Regions from separate parts of the Homo sapiens genome. Here all the other regions are linked to region 3. The links are contacts of gene promoters, found by promoter capture Hi-C in blood cells and fetal thymus (Javierre and others, 2016). All regions are on one chromosome and are shown on one strand. The core of a region is centred on a gene start or on the middle of the fragment in contact, and the rest is flanking DNA. Distances in the headings are between cores, read along the strand shown.

Region 1 (2,700 bases), core at 182-2,681, 1.5 Mb before region 3:
TGTAAGCATTGTTCACTTTTGAGATCCACACATACCTGGATATCTAGATGTATTCCAGGCCATATGGAGTCTTACTTTATTGAGACCAAGATGCCTCCTGGGTAAGACTGATTATACTCTTTCGCCTACCGAGCTAATTCTTACTTAAATATCATGATTCGGTTAGTCTGTTTCTCCATTAAAAAAACTTCATAACACTCCTTCCTCTTACCACAATAACTTCAGACAGCCATCCTTCATGCTCCTACAGCACCTGGTATATTTTAAGATGCACACATTATATTTTAATTATTTCCTTACTAGTCTGCCTCAGGAGGCTCCTTAGTATAAGGTCTGGAGTCAAACACTTATACCTTCAGCATTTATGAGTTGAGCAATGATTGTGTGCCAAATTGGACTCTTCCACCATCAAATAGTTATATAAATTTGGCAAACTACTTAATACCACCTGAAGTTTCACTTTTCTCATCTGTAAAATTAAAATATTAACTGTACATATACCACAGGTTATGGTGAGGGTTATGTAATGCAGAATATGCTTCATTAATGTTGGCTATCATTATATTTCTCTTATCATAAACAAATTAAGCTTATATGATCATTTAAATAAACTTAGAAGGAAAAGGCTTAAGATTACCTGGTGTTTATAGAAAAAAGAGATGCTTTGATTTTTTTTTAATAGAGAAGAAAAAATGTTCTTAAACACTTACCAAATCAGAACTACAGGTAGAGTTCATTGAAAAAAAGCTGCTATTCTTCTCAATCTTACATTACTGTCATATCAATCTTCTAAAAACGTAGTTTTCATTTCAATATCTTGTTAAACTTTTAATGGTACTCCATATATCTTATATAACTTAATATAAACATCTTAACTTTGTAAAAATATACACATTATAGAGATATCAAAATAATATATATCTGGTAACATTTACATTCACACTTAGTAAAAGTATGTTTCCAGAGATGCCAAAAAATATGTGAAATTATCAAACATGATTAAGTCAAATTAAGCCTTTTCTCCTCATATGTAATTAATTTGTACAGCAAAAACATACTATTATTAACTTTCCTCTCCAAAAGATTATTCCAATAAATGCACAATTTCCTTTTATTATATTAATATTTCTTTATACATACCACACAAAGCTCAAATAAAATGATTCCAAGAGACCATACATCTGATTTGGGGCCAGAAGGCAATGGTTTTTTACTTGGCATGTGATCAGTGGTTTTGAAAATTCCCTGTGCAATTACCTCAGGGGCCAAGTACGAGGGATACCTGTAATGATACATTAAAATAATGAAAAATTACAACAGGGAAAGAAGCGATAGTACATTTTTACAATCAATGTGGTAAGATCTATGTAAAAGTCTCATGCAATTAAATTAACAACTGTTGCTAGAAAGCATTCTAAACTAACCATCATAATACAGAACTTTAATGTCAAGGAATCAAGAGAAAATATACACAAGTCTGAAATAGTTTTAAAACCTTCATGTCTCCCTCCAGCATTAGCTCCTTTATTTGCTTCTCTCTGTGTTTTTAACACAGTCCTCTAGGCTTCCAAGTGTTTTTCCTTCCTTCTTATTGCCTATCTTCCCTTAACGCTGAATTAATATTTAAAGTGCATTTTATCTTTTAAAAAAGTATTTATTTTTAGTAGTAAGAATGTTAATGCTATAAAAAAGATACAAATTGAAAAGTAAAACTCCTATCTCTACACCCCTGTCATCCATACATATTTATGTATATATAACTTTGTCCACCCATCACCTCTGCCCCACATGGTGGAATACTATACATATTGCTATATACCTTTTTTCCACTTAAAGTGTATTTTAGAGATTGTTCTTTAAAAACACAAGTATAGAGTTTCCTCATTCTTTTTGAAAACTCCCAATAATTTCATTGATGTACTTAATTTGATGAAACAAAAACATTTTGGAACTTCCATTCTTTTGCTATTACCAATAATGAGATGAATATATTATGACTATTACATATCCCACAAGTATATGCATATAAATGACAGATATATTCTTAGAAGTGGCATTCCAAGATCGTAAGGTATGTGCATTTTAAATTTTGATTTACCACACCAAGTTGCCCTTTGGGGAGGTTGTATCAATTTATATTGTCATAAGTAATACATGAGGGTGCCTATTTCCTCACAACTTCACTGACATAAAACGTTTTTTGAAAACCGGTTTAGCAAATATTGAATAAATGCAAAACACTGCCTATTAAATATGAATAAGGCATAAAGAAGAAAGCTTCAATGAACACCCATGTACCAAGAAGCAGTTTAAGTGAAGAACATAAAATTATCACCAAAAGTCCCTTTGTGCTTCTCCCTGATTGTATCTCCACCCCTGTTCCTCCAGAGAAGACACCTGGAATTTTTGTGTTTGTCATTCTCTTCCATTTCCTGATGGTTTTACCATGTTTGTATCCCTAAAAAATGTACTGTTTAGTCAAGCATATTTCTGAACTTTATAACACTGGAATTAGGATGACTGTATTCTTTTGCTCTTTCAATCAAGATTATCTATATTGTTGGATGAAGCTATATCCATTAAATTCTTATTTCTATTATATGAACATAACATTATTTATACATTCAAATGGCAATGGCATTTAGGCTGTTTCCTGCTTTTTATTATTAACATTATGAACAACGTTGCACAGAATGCCAT
Region 2 (2,700 bases), core at 26-2,525, 1.7 Mb after region 3:
GTTGGCCAGGCTGGTCTTGAACTCCTGACCTTATGATCCGCCCGCCTTGGCCTCCCAAAGTGCTGGGATTATAGGCGTGAGCCACCTCACCTGGCTGTGACTTGGTAAATTCTAGGGACTGACCAAAGCCAAGCATAGAATGGCTTTGTTATCCCAAAATTGTGATTACTTCAAGCCACGGTGGAGAGATGAAAATGTAGATGAGAGGAAAAGCAAATTCAAAAGCCAAACATGGCTATATTAAGCATTGAGGTGAAAGAGTAGGGTGAGGACCCAAACCACTGGCAACAACACTGGAAGCCAAGAGAGTGAGAGAACGGAATGCAGGGCAGTGGAGCTGGTGAGTCAGGCATCTGAGACAGAAGGTCCTTGTTCTGTAAATGTGCAGTGAAGTCTTGCCTGGCCTACGTGGAGAGAGGAGCCCCTTAAAGGTGACACCAAACTGGACAGCCACAGTCTACTGATCATTAATGTGTTCTGGATTGGGAGATGTTACAGGACAGTGGGACTAACAAATCTAAGTGCATGCATGCTGAAATGATGACAAATAGCAAAAGTGTCAATATAATCAAACAAAATAAATCAGGTATATTCTCGTAGGGGTGACTTTGCACTCGGATTTCAAAGCTCATATTCTAGGCCTTCTTTGCTATTGTTGACTCACCTGGTCAAATTGTCAACAGCATGCTATGGGCTCCTTTCTGCACCAATGTGCCTTTGAATCCCAAGTACCACTGCCCTCAATGTTTGAATCATCTTTGAGCCTACAGGTTAGGATTCTTGGTAGTAAAGGAAGAAGGCAGATTTTTTGAGGAGCTATTCTGGGAGCCTTCTTGTTATCCACTGGACACTGCTTATTTCACTTGTGGACTTACAATGTAGCAGCTGTGTTTCGATTTCTCCTGTAAGGCTTGCTGCAGAGGAATATCATCAATTAAAATGGACAAAAGGAGAGCACAAATTACTTTACCAGTTACCCCTAAGCTGACAGTCTGTAGATTACAACCAAATCTTAAAGTGTTTTCCCGGTCAATTGTACTATTCCATAGCTCTTAAGTGTCTATTTGAAGACCTAAAGCAGGTGATGTTTTCGGCCCAGATCCAGAGTTTAAAATTTGTGTAATATAATGTAAGTCTACCTACAGTTTTATGAGAATTTCTGTTAAGCTTTTGGGAGTTTGGTCTGTATGCTGTCATTCTTCATTTTCAAAGAATACATTTTTTAAATGATGGTGTTTCCTATATATACTTCCCATCATCGGCAACATCTAACCTGAGTTATTTATAAGCTGCTCTCAACTTTCAGAACTTTTCTGCCTCACATGTATGTTCCAGCATACCAAACTTGATTCTTTCCCCCCTCTCTCTCTCACTATGGATGGAGAAAGCTTTAAGAGGCCCTTGGTGTGTTTGTGTGGTAGGAGAGAGCTTGTGGGGAGAAGGATGGATTGGGGAGTGGAGACATGGAAACAGTTCTGGAAAAGTGGCTTTGCACAGAGCTGCTCCATCCACGTGATACTTTAGCAGTCCAAGCTGCAGAAAGGGAAGGCTGGCCACATGCCAGCTGCTCACTGGGAAAGAGTGATGGCTCCTGTAGACTGGCAGCAGGAGTTTGTTCTGCCTCTTCAAAATGCTGTCAGGAGACTTCTTTGCCAATGAATGAATCCTCAGGCCACTAAAGGGGGTAAGGGGATTCACACATACGCCTCCAGGTGAGAAGCATGGAAAAAAGGTTTCCTCTCCCCTGTACCTAGGAGATCTGGTCATAGTTCTGATTTTACTAACAGCTAGCTGTGTGGGCTAAGGTAAAATTATTTGACATCTATAAGTTCCAGTTATTTTGTTGTGAATAAAGAGGGGATCTGAGTAAAGAATGTCTCTGACTCTAAAATGCCATGGGCCTGTAATCTATCAGTGTGAGTGGTAACCTCAATAAAAGTGAAAGTCTGGTGTGGCAGCTCTTCTAGAGCTTCTTTTGTCTAGTCATGTCTATAATCAGGCCAAGTCCTGTAGTTTGTGGGATTGACACAAGATTCAAAATAACTGTGTGTCATCAGAAACAAAAGTTTGGAAAAGACATTTCCCCAAACTAAATTAAATATCACTGCTCAAAAATAATAAAATGCTATAGAAAGAAAATATCAACGCCACCACAAATCAACATTGGAGGAACAGCCCTAAAAAACATCTGGAAAATAGCATTAAGTTAACAAACCACTAGATAAAATGTTTGATTTCCCAGGCACTGATGTTACTAACTGCAAAAGCAGTTAAAAAGTCTTATGAGGAATAATATCTTGGCACTCATGAACAGCAAGAAACCCAGCTGTTTGCACTTGCTGTATAACAAGTGCCAATGCACATACTGTAATCCTCAGTCTGCTGAGCACTGCAATGGCAAACAGCACAATGTGACAGAAAGTTCCTGATTGGGCAAGAGTGATCAGGCTATTGGGACTCAGTAACAGGCAAATGCCTCCTTTTACTACAACAGCCCACTTCCAGGGCAACTTCCTTGTGAATTGTTGTTTCTTGCTATATATTCATTCATTTGCTTTTACTAGAAATTTATATCATGGTCTGGAAAGAACTTCTATTTCCAGGCAAGAGTTCCTTTAAACCATACCAGATGTCGGAAACATTATGAGACTGGCCTAAGAAGAGGAGAAGAGGGGATTTGAACATGAGCTATATAAGTGA
Region 3 (2,700 bases), core at 169-2,668:
GCGAAACTGAGTCTGAGTTTCAAGGCAGTGGTTTCACCGCACATTCAAATTCATGATCTGTCTTCTTTGTTCATCAAAACAATCCCGTGAAGTACATACTATTATACCCTTAAGTCAACTGAGGTTCGAAAAAGTAAAGTGACTCTCCTCAAGATCACACAGCTAGTAAATGGCAAAGCTGGGATGAGAGACCAGGCCAGGAGTCCAGCGCTCTTTCCACTGTTCTAATTCATCTTTTAAATCTCCTTCCCCTCCTTACCATCTATAGAGTTAAATAAAAGGAGAGAGGAATCAGTAAACAACTCATGATAACAATAACAACAGATGTGGTAAATTAATGACTTCCAAAGAACATTTGCCTGAAATTGCTTGTTTTTTTTTTCTTTGATTCATCTAGGGCAAGTAACGTTTTGGGAGACATTGCATTTAAACCTTATTATTCCATTGGACTGTGAAATAACGTTTCCGTCTAAACTTAAACCAGTGCCTTTCCAGACTCCAAAGATGGGCCCTTCCCTGCTGCACACTTACAAAGGAAGATAAGGCTCTTTCTCATCACAGAGAAATTAAGGAAGTAAGCAACGTTATGAGGACACAGCACTTTACAAAGTCAACTGGCAGTCATTACTAAACGTTATAAAGGACTGGTCCCATACCTGACTGTCACCAGGAATGGAGTCTTCCAAACTCCTACTTGTTAAACATTCCGATTTAACACAGAGACACAAAGAACCTCAGTTCAGGGCAGTCTCAACTCATGAATGACCACATTGTTGGGTACTCTCCTTTCACACTGAAACTCAGAAATGGAAAGACACGGAGATGGACCCAAACCTGGGCCAACCGCACTGGCAGAGCCAAGAAAAACCAAGAACGCGTCGAAGGCGCCCGCCTCCGCCTTCTCTGCACATCTTCAGGCCACTCCAAGGTATGCAGGAAGCTCCTGTTTCTGCAGCCGCAGGTTTCAGCACCCGGAGGTTTCAGCAAGCGCCAGTTCACGGGTGAAGGATTTTCCTGGGGGTCTTACCTGAGCGGAGGCGCTGGGGAGGGGGGGCGTTCTTCCCACGAACGGTGGCTCGGACCGCACGCTGCGCCAAGCTAGGGCGAGATCCCCACCCTGCGCCGCGCCCCTCTGCCTCGCAACCACCCACGGCCCCAGCCGGGAGGCGCCGCAGCCCCGGAACCCACCTCCGCGCTCCTGGAAGGATGGATGCGGAGGAGGCGGGAGAGAGGCGGCGGCTCCGGAACGAGCTGCTCCCACAGCCCCTCCGCTCCTCGCCGTCTCGCCTTCGTCCCCAGCTTACCCAGTTCTGCGCGTTATTGCTCAGTTTGACTTTCTTGCACAGGCTCCCGGGGATCTCCATGACCGCGGAGCGCGCTGAGCAGCCGGGGTTCTCTGCGCCGGGAGGGTAGCAAGAGGAGGGCAGGCCAGCGAGCGGGGCGGGGCTGGAGGGCGGGGCCTCCTCGCGTCGGAGCGGGCGCGCGCTGACTTAAGCACGCGCCCGTGCTCGTGGCCTGGGTTGCGCGGCGCATGCGGCGCGCCTCGGAAATGGGTCCGGGGCAGAGGTCTGTGGGGAAGGGCGAAACGCCGGGATAGAACCGGAGGTAGAAGCTGGGGGCGGAGCTTCAGCGCTCGCGCCGGCGCGGGCGCGCACGGCGCTCCTCCTTCCAGATCCCGATGAAGGGGCGGGGCCTGGAATGCAGTCGTGGAACCTCAGGTGCCTCTGCGGCACCGAGCCTAGCTCTGAGCTAACGCAGATCTCTAAGAGCGAGTACCAGCCGCCGGGAGAAAGGCAAGGGGAGTGCGCGGCTCGCCGCGCGCGGCACTCCCTCAGCAGAGGCTGATTGGGAGGACGCTGACGCGGCCTCTTGCACCTGTGGCTACTCCTCCACAGACCTGGCTGCCGACCTCCTGTCTGCCCCTTCTGTGCCCATGTCACCCTGGCCAAATGTTTTAAATGTTTTACAGCTTTGCAAAGGGAAGAATTGATTTACCGAACAGCTCATTCTCCACATTAAAATTCTACTCAAGACACAATTTTTTTTCTTTTTTTGAGACGGAGTCTTGCTCTGTCGCCCAGGCTGGAGTGCAGTAGTAGGATCTCGGCTCACCGCAACCTCTGCCTCCCGGGTTCAAGCGATTCTCCTGCCTCAGCCTCCCGAGTAGCTGGGACTACAGGCGTGTGCCACCACGCCCGGCTAATTTTTGTATTTTTAGTAGAGACGGGGTTTCACTATGTTGGCCAGGCTGGTCTCGAATTCCTGACCTCATGATCCGCCCGCCTCAGCTTCCCAAAGTGCTGGGATTCCAGGCGTGAGCGACAGCGCCTGGCCTCAAGACACAGTTTTTAAAAAGATATAATAAAAGCCCGATTTCTTGACATCAATAATTAATATCTCAACCTGGATTAGTGATTACTTATAAGGTGCCTCCCTCTCCGCTAGGAGACCCCACTTCGCATCAGATTTCTGTGCAGTGCTTCTTACCGACCTACACCGGAAAGGGGCTTCTGTATTATTAAGAGCTACTCAGGAAATACCTAGAGGACTGAAATCCAGGACCGGGGAGGCCGCAGGTAACCCCGAATAGAACTCCCGCCTACGGAGGACATTTTCAAATTCACCTAATTATTCCAGGGCTAGTTCGTAGGAGGATGGGCTGGGGGCATGACAGAGTTTCCTCCAGGAGTTATCTTCCCC
Region 4 (2,700 bases), core at 31-2,530, 2.0 Mb after region 3:
AACTGGACCCTGCACTGTGCCTCCAGGACAAGGCTACCTATCTACCTCCTCTACGACCATGTGACTTTTACAGCTTGCCTCTGGAGCACCATTTCCTTTGTGCAGCAAAATATAAAGAGTTCTTAAACAAAGGCACTCTAACCAACTGCAGGCGTTTCGTTCTTTTTTTTTTTTTTTCTTCTTGATTCGAAGTCTCACTCTGTCGCCGAGGTTGGAGTGCAGTGGGGCGATCTCGGCTCACTGCAACCTCCACCTCCAGGGTTCAAACGATTCTCTTGTCTCAGCCTCCCCAGTAGCTTGCGCCCAGGCCTGGCTAATTTTTTTGTATTTTTAGTAGAGACGGGGTTTCACCGTGTTAGTTAGGCTGGTCGAGAACTCCCGACCTCTGGTGATCCGCCCGCCTCGGCCTCCCAAAGTGTTGGGATTACAAGGCGTGAGCCACCACGGCCGGCCAACTGCAGGCGTTTCGACCTTTTTGTTTGTTTCACTCTGGCCAGGCTTGAAGTTTCTAAACTTTACCAGTAATAAGTGACAGAACGTACGCTCTTAGCAGTTGATTACTTTGCAGAAAAAAGTTATTGTGGTTTTGGCTCAAACCGACAGACAGCAGCAGGTTTCCTGGATGAAGAAGAGAGATACCGGGGTGTGCTGGCCGCCAGGAACTGGCCGCCTCCAGCTGAAGCCCGGGAGGACCCAGGGTCTTGGCCCGGGCACCCCGCGGGCCTGTTATGTTTTCATTATGACTCGGCGGAACAACCCCTCCTTTTCACTTTTCGAAGTGAGCAAACAAAAGATCCAACCCCCAACATTTCAAACGGCCAGGTGTGGGGGAACGCCAGGCCCGCGTGGGGACAGCCTTTTAAGGTTTAAACAGCCGGGGCGCCCCGAAAGCGCTCATCGCCCCGGAGGACAAAGGCGGCAGGGGCACGCCCCGGCGCCGGCGTCGCTACTCGGGACCGCCAGGAGGCGGCAGCCAGGTCCCCGAGTGTTTCTTAGACTGAAGCGCGAAACCGTCCCCACCCGCCCTGAGCGCTTCAATCCAAGAGTGCAACTTCTCCAGGCCGCCCTGCAAAGCCGAAGGAACCCGCGGCCCCACTCCGGTCCGCGCGCCCGGTCCACTAACCCTCGTTTCCCCTCCAGCCGGAGCAAGACGCAGACCTGCTCGGTGCCCAGTCGACGCCCCCTGCCTACCTGCCGGGTGCCCCCTGCGGAGCCCCGAGGCCGAGCTCATTGCAGCCAAACGCGCAGCCAGACACCTTGCCCTCCTCTTCCTGAAGCCACAGGCTCCCGGGCCCGGCCCCGCCCTCGGCCCTTCCTCGGCGGCCCCGCCCCCTGCCCCCGAGCGTGGGGCCAGTTGGTTCTGATTGCGCGCCGCCCGGGCTCCCGTGGATCGGGCTGGTCCTTCCCAGAGTTAAAGCTCCTCCCAGTCGCTCCGGAGCCCGCGGGGACCAAGAGCGCGGGGGCAGGGAGAGGTACGCGGTCTTCGCCTCCAGGCCCGCTGGGACTAACCGTGCCCTGGGGACATGCCAGTTGCCACCCGGGGGGACACACAGACCGCCTAGCCCGAGGCAATTTCACATCACTTGTGTGAGCTCGGACTCATTTAATCCCAGCTGCCCCAAACATTTGCTATTCCTTACTTTGCTATGCCTGTACTTTCTAGAGGTACAGGCATAGATTGTTTTATACCGCTTAGCAGATACTGCCTGTATTTCAACATTGGCTCGCTTTGTGTCTCTGTGTCACATTTTGGTACTCTCGCAATATTTCAAAATTTTTCATTGTTATTATGTCTGCTGTTGTGATCTGTGATCAGTAATCTTTAATATTATTGCAATTGTTTTGGGGCACCATGAACCGCGCTCATAAAGGAAGGGGAAATTAATCCATAAGCCCTGTATGTGTTTGGACTGTTCCACCGAACTTTCCCTTCTCTCTCCCCCTCCTGGGGCCTCCCTATTCCTGGAAACACAATTTTGAAATTAGGCCAACTAATAATCCTACAAAGGCCTCTAAGTGTCCAAATGAAAGGAAGAGCCTGTCACTTTAAATCAAAAGCAAACATGATTAAGTTAGTGAGGAAGTAATGTTGGTAGGCAGAAAGCTAGGCTTCTTGCTCCAGTTAGCCAAGTTGTGAGTGCAAAGGAGAAAAGCCAAGTCATGAATGCAAAGGAAAAAATTTTGAAGGAAATTAAAAATGCTACTCCAGTAAACACACAAAAGACAATAAAGCTAAACAGCCTTATTGCTGATATGGAGAAAGTTCTAGTTGGTCTGGATAGAAGATAAAAACAGCCACAACATTCCCTTAAGCCAAAGCCTAATCCAGAGCAAGGCCCTAACTCTTCAATTCTATGGAGGCTGAGAGAGGTGAGGGAATTGCAAAAGAAAAGCTGGAAGCTAGCAGAGAGGATGGTTCCTGAGGTTTAAGGAAAGAAACTATCTTCATGACATAAAAGTGCAAGGTGAAGCAGCAGGTGCTAACGTAGAAGCTGCATCAGGTTATCCAGATCTAGCTAAAATCATTGATAAAGGCAGCTACACTAAACAACAATCTTTTGTTTTTGAGACAGTCTTGCTTTGTCACCAAGGCTGGAGTACAGTGGTGCGATCTTTTGCAACCTCTGCCTCCTGGGTTCAAACGATTCTTCTGCCTCAGCCTCCCAAGTAACTGGGATTACAGGATGTGCCACCATGTCC
Region 5 (2,700 bases), core at 2-2,501, 1.7 Mb after region 3:
TTATTTTATTTATTTTTTTGAGACAGGGTCTCACTCTGTCACCCAGGCTGGAGTGCAGTGGTGCAATCTTGGCTCACTGCGGCCTCAATCTCCTGGGCTGAAGCAAGCCTAGCACCTCAGCCTCCCAAGTTACTGGGACTACAGGCACAAACCACCACACCTGCGTAATTTTTTATTTCATGTTTGTAGAGATGAAGTCTTACTATGTTGCCTGGGCTGGTCTCAAACTCCTGGACTCAAGCAATCCCCCTGCCTCAGCCTCCCAAAGTGCTGGGATCACAGGTGTGAGCCACCGCACCCAGCCTGTTTTAGTTTTTCAGTGATTATTTGATGCTTATGTAAGGCATTGTATTGGGCAATTTGGGGAGTGCAATAATCAAATTAATTTATTCTAAGATGCTTTTTTTTTTTTTTTTTACATTTTTTACCTCTGAAATTGGGGTGCATTTTAGAATCAGTGGAATTCTAAACTTGCTTTCCATAAAGTGAAATCATAATATAGTTGTGTGAGAATCTGCCATTGATACCTGATGTGGTAGGCTGAATAATGGGTTCCCCAGCTATGTCCATGTCCTAATCCCTGAAACCTTTGCAGCAGTGATTAAGTTAAGGATCTTGAGATGGGGTTTTCCTGGAACTTGGTAGGCCTGATACAATCACAGCAGTTCTTATTAGAGAGACACAGGACAAGTCAGAGCCAGCAGCGAAGGAAATGTGAAGACAGAAGCAGAAGTTAGAGTGATGTGCTTTGGAGATGGAAGGGGCCACAAGCCAAGGAATACCAGTGGCCACTAGAAGCTGGAAAAGGCAAGGAAACGGATTGTCTCTTCAGAGTGTCCAAAGGGAACCAGCCCTGTCCCTTGACACTTTGTAGCCCAGTGAAACTGATTTTGGACCTCTGACCTCCAGAACTCTAAGAGAATAAATTTGTGTTGTTGTAAACACTGACTTTGTTGTACTTTGTTATAGTAGCAGCAGGAACCTAATACACCTGTGAAGATAAATAGTGGCAGTATCAAAACACACCTTAGATATAATGAAATACGATAGATTTTCATTTCTTTTTGTTAAAAACACTTTTCTTATACGTGAACAGGGTAAAAAGTGTAACACGCCAAAGCAGAAAAAAGACCTGTTTTTGTATTATGGTATAAATTATTTTACATAGTGAAAGCTTTTAAAGTTTCATGTTCTTTGTGTTTAAGTAGCATGTAGTATTCCTTATTGATACATTGTGATAAGTGCCTGATACAGAAATACTTGATGATTATTTACTAGGCTTCATTTTATAAAAATACAGTAATAGTTTCCATCAGCCAGCCATTACACTAAGCTTTGGGGGATAGGATAGAGCTAAGAGCAAACTAGACTGAATTTTTTCACTTGCAGAATTTACAATTAGACAATTACAGTTCCATGTGAAAAGTTCTGTCATAAGGGTCCAAAATACTGTGGAAGCAATATTATATAATGGCATGCATTCACTTGTAGGATTAGAGAATGTTTTCCTAGAGAAGAGCTGAGCTGAGATCTGAAGAATAAGTTAAGAATTGGTCAGGTGAAGCAGAAGAGGGTATTTTGGAAGGTTCCATATACAGGGAAAAGCCTATCTGAAGATTGAGAGGTGAAGAAGCATGGCTTGAAAAAAATTTAGCATGATAAGGATGTGTGTAGAACAGTGATTCTCAGCCTTTTCATACTCATGGCTACTTTAGTGCTAAAATTTTTGGTGGCATTCTTAAAGGAATTACACTTTGAACACTTGTATTAAAAAAAAAGTTTCAAAAAAGGTATCACATACTCACTTGATCCCCTTCAGAAGCCTCTAAAAGACAGCTTAAAGTAAAACTGTCTTCTGCCCTGATGAACCTCTTTTAGGGCCTCTTGAGGTGAAACTCAAGCATACAATCTTAGTTGATGTTGTACTGTGGCTTCTTTGCTTTTTTGTGGCAAACAGTATTTTTTTCCCACCAGCTCAGCATTCTATTTGACTTCACCATATCAGTAAGCATCTTAAGTGTAGCAAAATTAAATTTTATTTATTGATCAAATGTTGGCAGAGGCATGTGGAAGACTACTAGTATACTAGTATATTAAGGCATACCTCTTGAAAATTATTGTATGAAGAGGTGGTGAGTGATAAAGCAGGAGTGGTAAGCAGAGGTCAGATGATGGAGAGTCTTTGCATTGTTTTCTATTTACTGCTGTAACAAATGACCACAAATTGGTGGCTTCAAACAACATGAATTTATCACCTATAGGTTAGAAGTCCACCTGAGCTAAAACCAAGGCATCTACAGGGCTGCATTCCCTTCTAGAGAATCTAAGGGAGAATTAATTTCTTGCCTTTGTCAGCTAGCTTCTGGATGCTGCCCACATTCCTTGGTCCATGGCCCACTTTCTCCATGTTCAAAGCCAGCAACATTGCATCTGTCTGAGAATTCTTCTGTAGTCACATCTCCCTCTGACTCTCTTCTACCTCTGCTTTTCTGCTCTTAAGGATGTTTGTGATTATATTGGTCTCACCTGGGTAATCAAGAATCTATTTTAAGGTCAGTTGATTAACATTCTTAATACCATGTGCAACCTTAATTCCCCTTTGCCAGGTAATCTAACATATTCACAAGTTTCAGAGATTAGGATATGGACATATGTTTTATTGGTCATGTTAAATAATTTGAATTTTTTTTTTTATGGCAA
Region 6 (2,700 bases), core at 4-2,503, 1.8 Mb after region 3:
TCACTTGGAGCACTAGCTAATAGGAGGAAAAGATTCAGGTAAGGTAATTTACCTTCCCATATGAACTTAAAGTTTCATGTGTCACTCTCCATCTGGGGCAACTGTATTTTGAAAGACATGCTAGTTAACACAGGTGAATCAGCCTTTAATAGTGATAAAGTTTTTACTATAGTAGAAACTTGTGATTCTTTCCCTTTTCAATAAGGAAAGGAGATTACCGCCAGGAGTGATTTGCCACTTATTGCAGGTTTGCCAATTTTGATTCATTAACTGAACCCTCTTGCAGATTCAGGAGATAAAAATGCGGAGTGCCCAGTTAAATTTGAATTCAGATAAACACCAAATAATTTAGTATATCCCAGATATTTCATTTTTAAAATAATAAATGTGACCCATGCAATATTTGGGACATACTTCACTATTTGTATCTAAAATTCAAGTTTAACTGGGCATCCTATATTTTATCTAACAACCCTACTGTAATTGGTTTAGGTTGCTCTTTAATGCCTTTGGTTTGCTTTCAAAAATAAGTAGTCTCAAAACAAAGCATCCGATTTCCCAGTAGTTAGAAGAACTCAATACCGGTTCCGAAGCTTCTTCAATTAAAAACGTGCTTCAAAAGAGAAGCCAATTCTGTGGGAGATACTTTCCCAAAAAACTCGGGTTTGGGCCCCTATACCGTGAACTACAAACCTCCGCAGGGGTAGGCCCGGGCTGCCCGCCTCACACCGCACTCGCCAGCGAGCAGGGGCCCGGCACCGCAGCCCGGGGCAGAGGCCTTGGAGGTTGTGGAGGTGGGAGAGGCCTCGGCCGACCCGCTTCAATCCGTCTTCTCCAAGCTCGGTGGGGAAAACAAACTTCCTGAGCGGCCCTGCCCCCTCCAGATGCCGGACGCTGTTTTCGTCTCATCCCCGTCTGGGTTGGATGGCGAAGACGGCGCTCAGAGCACGCAGCACCGGGAATTAACAGCGAGTTTTGAAATCTAGAGCTCGCAAGGTGTGCGTCGCCTGCTGCTGTTCATTCCAGAGGGTCTTCTGCTGGAGAAGGAGGGGGCCCTCGACCTCGGGCTCCCGCTCTCGGGCTCCCGCTCTCTCGCTCTCTTTTTTTTTTTTTTTTTTGGTCGGAGGAAAGAAAACAGCCCTGCGCCCGGATGCGTAGAGAGCCGACAAGTGGAAACAGGGACACACCCTCCCGTGAGCCCGCCCAAGCTGGAGCCGCGGCGCGCTGAGCGAGCAGGCGGGGCGGGAGCGCCCACAGCTCGGAGCCACCAGGCGCTGACGAGGAGCCCGGCTGAGGGAGGATGCGCCGCTGACGCCTGCGGGAGCCGCGCGCCTGGGGCGGGAGGATGCTCCAGAGGGGCCTCTGGCCGTGGCGCACGCGGCTGCTGCCGACCCCTGGCACCTGGCGCCCAGCGCGCCCGTGGCCGCTGCCGCCTCCGCCCCAGGTAAGAGCGGGTGCCGGGCTGTGGGGGTTCGGGGTAGGCTGGTGCAAAGTTTGCGTTGGACAACTTTGGCGGGAGCAAAAGCCGAGCGGCCGAGCAGTCAACTGCGTTTTGCTGGCTGCCGGGCTCCGCGCGCCGGGCGGTCCCGACAGGTGGTGGCCGGGCGGCCGACGTGGGTCACGGAGGCCTGGGCTGAGGTCAAGACTCCGGGCCCGGGGAAGGTGAAGCCAGAGCGCTGCGGCTGGGGGTGCCTCACCCGGGCCGAGATAGGGTGCGGGGACCACCAGACTTCGGCCTGGGAGCAGCAGAATAACCTGGGAGGCAGTTTCTGGGCTGCAGCTCTCGGTCAGGAGCAAGTTTCCAAAGCCGCTGCGCCGCGGGGCCGGTTCCCTCTTGGTGATCAGTGCCCGAGCCCCTAAGGAGCCCGGAAACGATGAACGGGGCAGTGACCGTCCCGGGTGTGGACGGTCGCAGGAGAGTGAAATTTCCATCCTGAAATCTGCGAGCACCTCCCTTTCCCAGAAGGAAGAAAAACTCGCGTTTTGTTCAGACACCCGAGAGACGGGTGAATCATGAGTGTGCTGGTGAGTAACAGTTGGCCTGACACCGTTGTATTGTGGTCTGTGGAGAACCGTGGCTTGGAGGAGTAGAGAGTGGATGTGCACCAAAAAAGACTAGAAGAAGGGGAAAGCGCTGAGTTTAAGGAGGATTGCGATGGAGCCTGACAGGAGCCCGGGAGTGCAAACTCTGACCCAGATGAGGAAAGACAGCCAAAGCCTTCAGGGTGTGTGTGGTTGGGGAGGGAGCTGTTTCTGAGTTTTCGTTTGTTCCTCCCCCACACTGTTAAGATTACTTTCAGATTGTTAAAGGCTTAAAAGCCAAAAAGTAAGCAGTGTGATTCTCTTGTCACTTTCACTTCCTGTTTATTTTGTTCTTTTTTTTCCTTCCCCCCCTTTTCCTCCAGCTGTCTGAGGGCTTCAGTTTCAATTGATGCAGGGAATATTTAAGTGCATTTTTTTTTCCTTTTCATTGAGCTTGTGACCAAAGGATTAAGTGCATTCAGAAAATCAATTCCAGGAATGTTTGAAAGAGAATGAGGAAGGCCATGTTGTTACTAAATGTAAGAACAGGGGCAAACTCCTTAAAATGTAAAATGGTAGACTTATAAAGTCATTGGGGAGATGGGCTTTTTATACTTTTAAAGGTTGTACTTTTACTGTAAGTGTTGCATTGTGTAGTCAAAGAGATACCAAACATTA
Region 7 (2,700 bases), core at 196-2,695, 1.7 Mb after region 3:
ATTTTAACGTGATCATCAAGAGATTCATATGCGCCTTAGTCTGGGTTGCACCACTATACAACTTATATCAGTAAAAAGAAGAGTAAGCTTTGTTCTAAAGTTTCAAAGGACTGCCTCACTTTTCTGTTTTCTGGAAATGCATATGTGGCTTACTCCGAACTTGTGAGTATTGGGACTTACGAACAATGGAAATTTTGGAACCTAACCTGTTCATATGTAAGAGTTTCTAAAGTTCCAAAATGGGTTCTGTATTCCTCTGGTCTTCTGAAACAGAGTACAGAACATAATTTAATTTTTCTTTGCAATTGAGGACCAAATCTATGAATATCTGTTTTGGTCCTGATATATGGTGATGTCATAAAGCGCTTTCAAGTTATAAAGCAGGTGTTCGGTATGTGACAGTTCCCTTCACTTTATTTCCTTCAGAATACTAGGTTATAAATTTCTCAGATGGCAGAGACTTGTGGACTATGTTTATCATATTTCCAGTGGAATACATAGGGTTGTTCAATGTAACTAATTGTGTCAGAATACCGTGCATTTTTAATTCATTTTTCTAATTGTCTTGTTTTTCCTGTGCTTATTCTGCCAACTAATAGAGATTGCTCCTCTCAAACTACCTATATTAACAGCATTTCCTTCCCTTGCCTTGTGATTCATAGTTTCTAATCTGCTGTGGACTAGTTAAGTGTCTAACTACAGAAATTACAGCATGTCTGAAACAACAGCCAAATAGTTTATGTGACAATCAGAGAATTTCCTGTAAGTGCATGCACTATTGTTCATGAGTTGACTATGTGGTAATTATTTGCCAATAATCTCATCTTTTATTTTTCTTTTAGTATCTTAGTTGTGTTTTAGACCACTGAAATGTAAATGAGAGTTAAATGACATCAACATAAGTGATCAAATATTATTAAAGTCAGTGAAATTATTTATTCTCATGATAATGCGTGGTGAAACTCAACTGGAATGCCATAATGAAAAGAAGAAACAAAGATTCACTAAGAGCAAAAAAAAAAAAAAAAAAACACAGCCAGGATTGTTTTTAATTCAAGAAATACAAATACAAGTCAGTAGGAATATATAGAAAAGTTTCTGCATACCTTTGAAAACAGACCATATCTTATTCATTTTTGTATCCCCAATACCTAGCCTATTATAAATGTAATAAATCTGTAAATGGATCAGATAAAGGAGGAAAAAGCAGAAAACTGTTTCTTCATATTGGGAGATGGACACCTAATAGAGAATGCCACTAAAAGGGAAGGAGTGATCTACAAACGCCAAATGTGATTTACAAACTAGAGAATAAAAACCCTAGTGAGAAATATGGAAAGCCAGGCTACGATAAAGAATTGACATTTCTTGGCTGGGCATGGTGGCTCACGTCTGTAATCCCAGCACTTTGGGAGGCCGAGGCAGGCAGATCACCTGAGGTCAGGAGTTTGAGACCACCCTGGCCAACATGGTGAAACCCCATTATCTACTAAAAATACAACAATTAGCCAGGAGTGATGGTGCATACCTGTAGCCCCAGCTACTCAGGAGGCTGAGGCAGGAGAATCGCTTGAACCCAGGAGGTGGAGGTTACAGAGAGCCAAGATGGCGCCACTGTACTCCCGACTGGGTGACAGTCTCAAAAAAAAAAAAAGAGCTGACATTTCTTGAGCTAGAGATAGGCGTTCAGTTGTCCAAGGCTCCCACTTCTGTTATAGAGAATAGAGTCCTAAGTTGGGGATGACAAATAGTAACACACGTATTATTTCACTTCCATATATGCAGCAGAGATTAATTCAATTACCCACTCTTTCTCACTGAACAGACTTGGCCTCAGCATCTGCATCAACACTATACCTCAGAGAATCTGAGTTGACATAGGAAACATCATAATTGGCATTTGTGACACTGTAATCACAAATCTACAAAATATCACTTTTATTGGTCTGTAAAAGATTGAAGAGATGTCCTGAAAGAAAGGACCATCATCTTCCAAAGTAAGAGAATGAACCAATTCAGCTTAACTCTGCTATTCAAAAGCAGTGGTCCTCAAACTTCCCCATGCATCAGAATTGCCTGGAGAGCTTGCTGTAGGGCCCTATCTCCACCACTTCTGAATCAGTATACGGTCCAGGGTTTGGGCCCACAAATCTGCATTTCAAAAACTCTGAGATCTACCATTGTAGAGTACACTGGAACAAATTCTAAATATGAAAAACTGAAAATCTTTTGACAGCAAGACAGTAAATCATAACTAGCATAGCTTTATGAAGAAAAATGTAAATTAACCCAGTATAGTTTATAGTAAAGCAATGGTCTGGAGCTAAATAATCCTTGGTTTGACCGCTGGTTCTGCTAATTCCAGGTTCATGATTTTTACTAAGATTACTTCAGCTCTATAAACATTAGTTTCTTCACAGATAAAATAGGGATAAGAAAAATATCCCATGGAGTTATTGTTAGGATTAAATAGAAAAAAATACATATCTAGATTTACAAGCACAGTGCCTAGTAGATGGTTCAATCCTATTCATTCAATTCTTCATCCTTTTTTCACTTATAGTAGTAATGGAAATTAAAGCAAAAGAGTGAAATATTTTCATAAAGGTTGTAGTGTTTGTCAGGAGGAAAAATATCTACCTTCTAGAAGGGGTGCCACGGCAGCGACAGCACAAGGCCCGTGCGTCTGGGGTTCCTGTA

What was found. The method cuts DNA at HindIII sites, captures the fragments that hold promoters and counts their contacts. A CHiCAGO score of 5 or more calls a contact.
Region 1: a fragment that was not itself captured here is called in contact with the fragment with the promoter of PAPSS1 in region 3 in 4 of 17 cell types (total B cells, naive CD8 T cells, total CD8 T cells and 1 more); the score reaches 6.1 in total B cells.
Region 2: a fragment that was not itself captured here is called in contact with the fragment with the promoter of PAPSS1 in region 3 in 1 of 17 cell types (non-activated CD4 T cells); the score reaches 5.4 in non-activated CD4 T cells.
Region 4: the fragment with the promoter of CASP6 here is called in contact with the fragment with the promoter of PAPSS1 in region 3 in 7 of 17 cell types (activated CD4 T cells, total CD8 T cells, fetal thymus and 4 more); the score reaches 13.3 in activated CD4 T cells.
Region 5: a contact is called between a fragment that was not itself captured here and the fragment with the promoter of PAPSS1 in region 3, in 1 of 17 cell types (fetal thymus). The highest score is 7.1, in fetal thymus.
Region 6: a contact is called between the fragment with the promoter of MCUB here and the fragment with the promoter of PAPSS1 in region 3, in 7 of 17 cell types (fetal thymus, activated CD4 T cells, naive CD4 T cells and 4 more). The highest score is 13.2, in fetal thymus.
Region 7: a contact is called between a fragment that was not itself captured here and the fragment with the promoter of PAPSS1 in region 3, in 7 of 17 cell types (fetal thymus, non-activated CD4 T cells, activated CD4 T cells and 4 more). The highest score is 12.2, in fetal thymus.

The regions. Positions count from the first base shown.
Region 1 is chr4:106,250,726-106,253,425 of GRCh38, forward strand. It overlaps TBCK (TBC1 domain containing kinase), which reads right to left. Exons shown (of 26, transcript NM_001163435.3): 6 at 1,141-1,282. Among named protein-coding and RNA genes, the nearest start is that of TBCK, 64 kb to the right of the region's middle. The HindIII fragment of the contact is 1,688 bases long and covers 588-2,275 here.
Region 2 is chr4:109,410,640-109,413,339 of GRCh38, forward strand. No RefSeq gene overlaps it. Among named protein-coding and RNA genes, the nearest start is that of SEC24B, 22 kb to the right of the region's middle. The HindIII fragment of the contact is 221 bases long and covers 1,166-1,386 here.
Region 3 is chr4:107,718,816-107,721,515 of GRCh38, forward strand. PAPSS1 (3'-phosphoadenosine 5'-phosphosulfate synthase 1) reads right to left here and starts at 1,419. Exons shown (of 12, transcript NM_005443.5): 1 at 1,305-1,419. The coding sequence starts at 1,364. RefSeq lists an enhancer at 672-731 and a silencer at 1,362-1,611. The HindIII fragment of the contact is 5,198 bases long and covers 1-2,700 here.
Region 4 is chr4:109,702,165-109,704,864 of GRCh38, forward strand. CASP6 (caspase 6) reads right to left here and starts at 1,281. Exons shown (of 7, transcript NM_001226.4): 1 at 1,192-1,281. The coding sequence starts at 1,231. RefSeq lists enhancers at 703-762, 1,653-1,702 and silencers at 943-1,052, 1,203-1,492. The HindIII fragment of the contact is 4,197 bases long and covers 1-2,700 here.
Region 5 is chr4:109,445,568-109,448,267 of GRCh38, forward strand. The region is part of intron 1 of SEC24B (SEC24 homolog B, COPII component); the gene reads left to right. Among named protein-coding and RNA genes, the nearest start is that of SEC24B-AS1, 13 kb to the left of the region's middle. The HindIII fragment of the contact is 159 bases long and covers 1,173-1,331 here.
Region 6 is chr4:109,558,993-109,561,692 of GRCh38, forward strand. MCUB (mitochondrial calcium uniporter dominant negative subunit beta) reads left to right here and starts at 1,254. Exons shown (of 8, transcript NM_017918.5): 1 at 1,254-1,444. The coding sequence starts at 1,346. RefSeq lists a silencer at 1,201-1,520 and an enhancer at 1,941-2,140. The HindIII fragment of the contact is 4,460 bases long and covers 592-2,700 here.
Region 7 is chr4:109,429,052-109,431,751 of GRCh38, forward strand. SEC24B-AS1 (SEC24B antisense RNA 1) reads right to left here. Exons shown (of 3, transcript NR_039978.1): 2 at 2,641-2,695; 3 at 912-1,729. Among named protein-coding and RNA genes, the nearest start is that of SEC24B, 3.4 kb to the right of the region's middle. The HindIII fragment of the contact is 2,721 bases long and covers 86-2,700 here.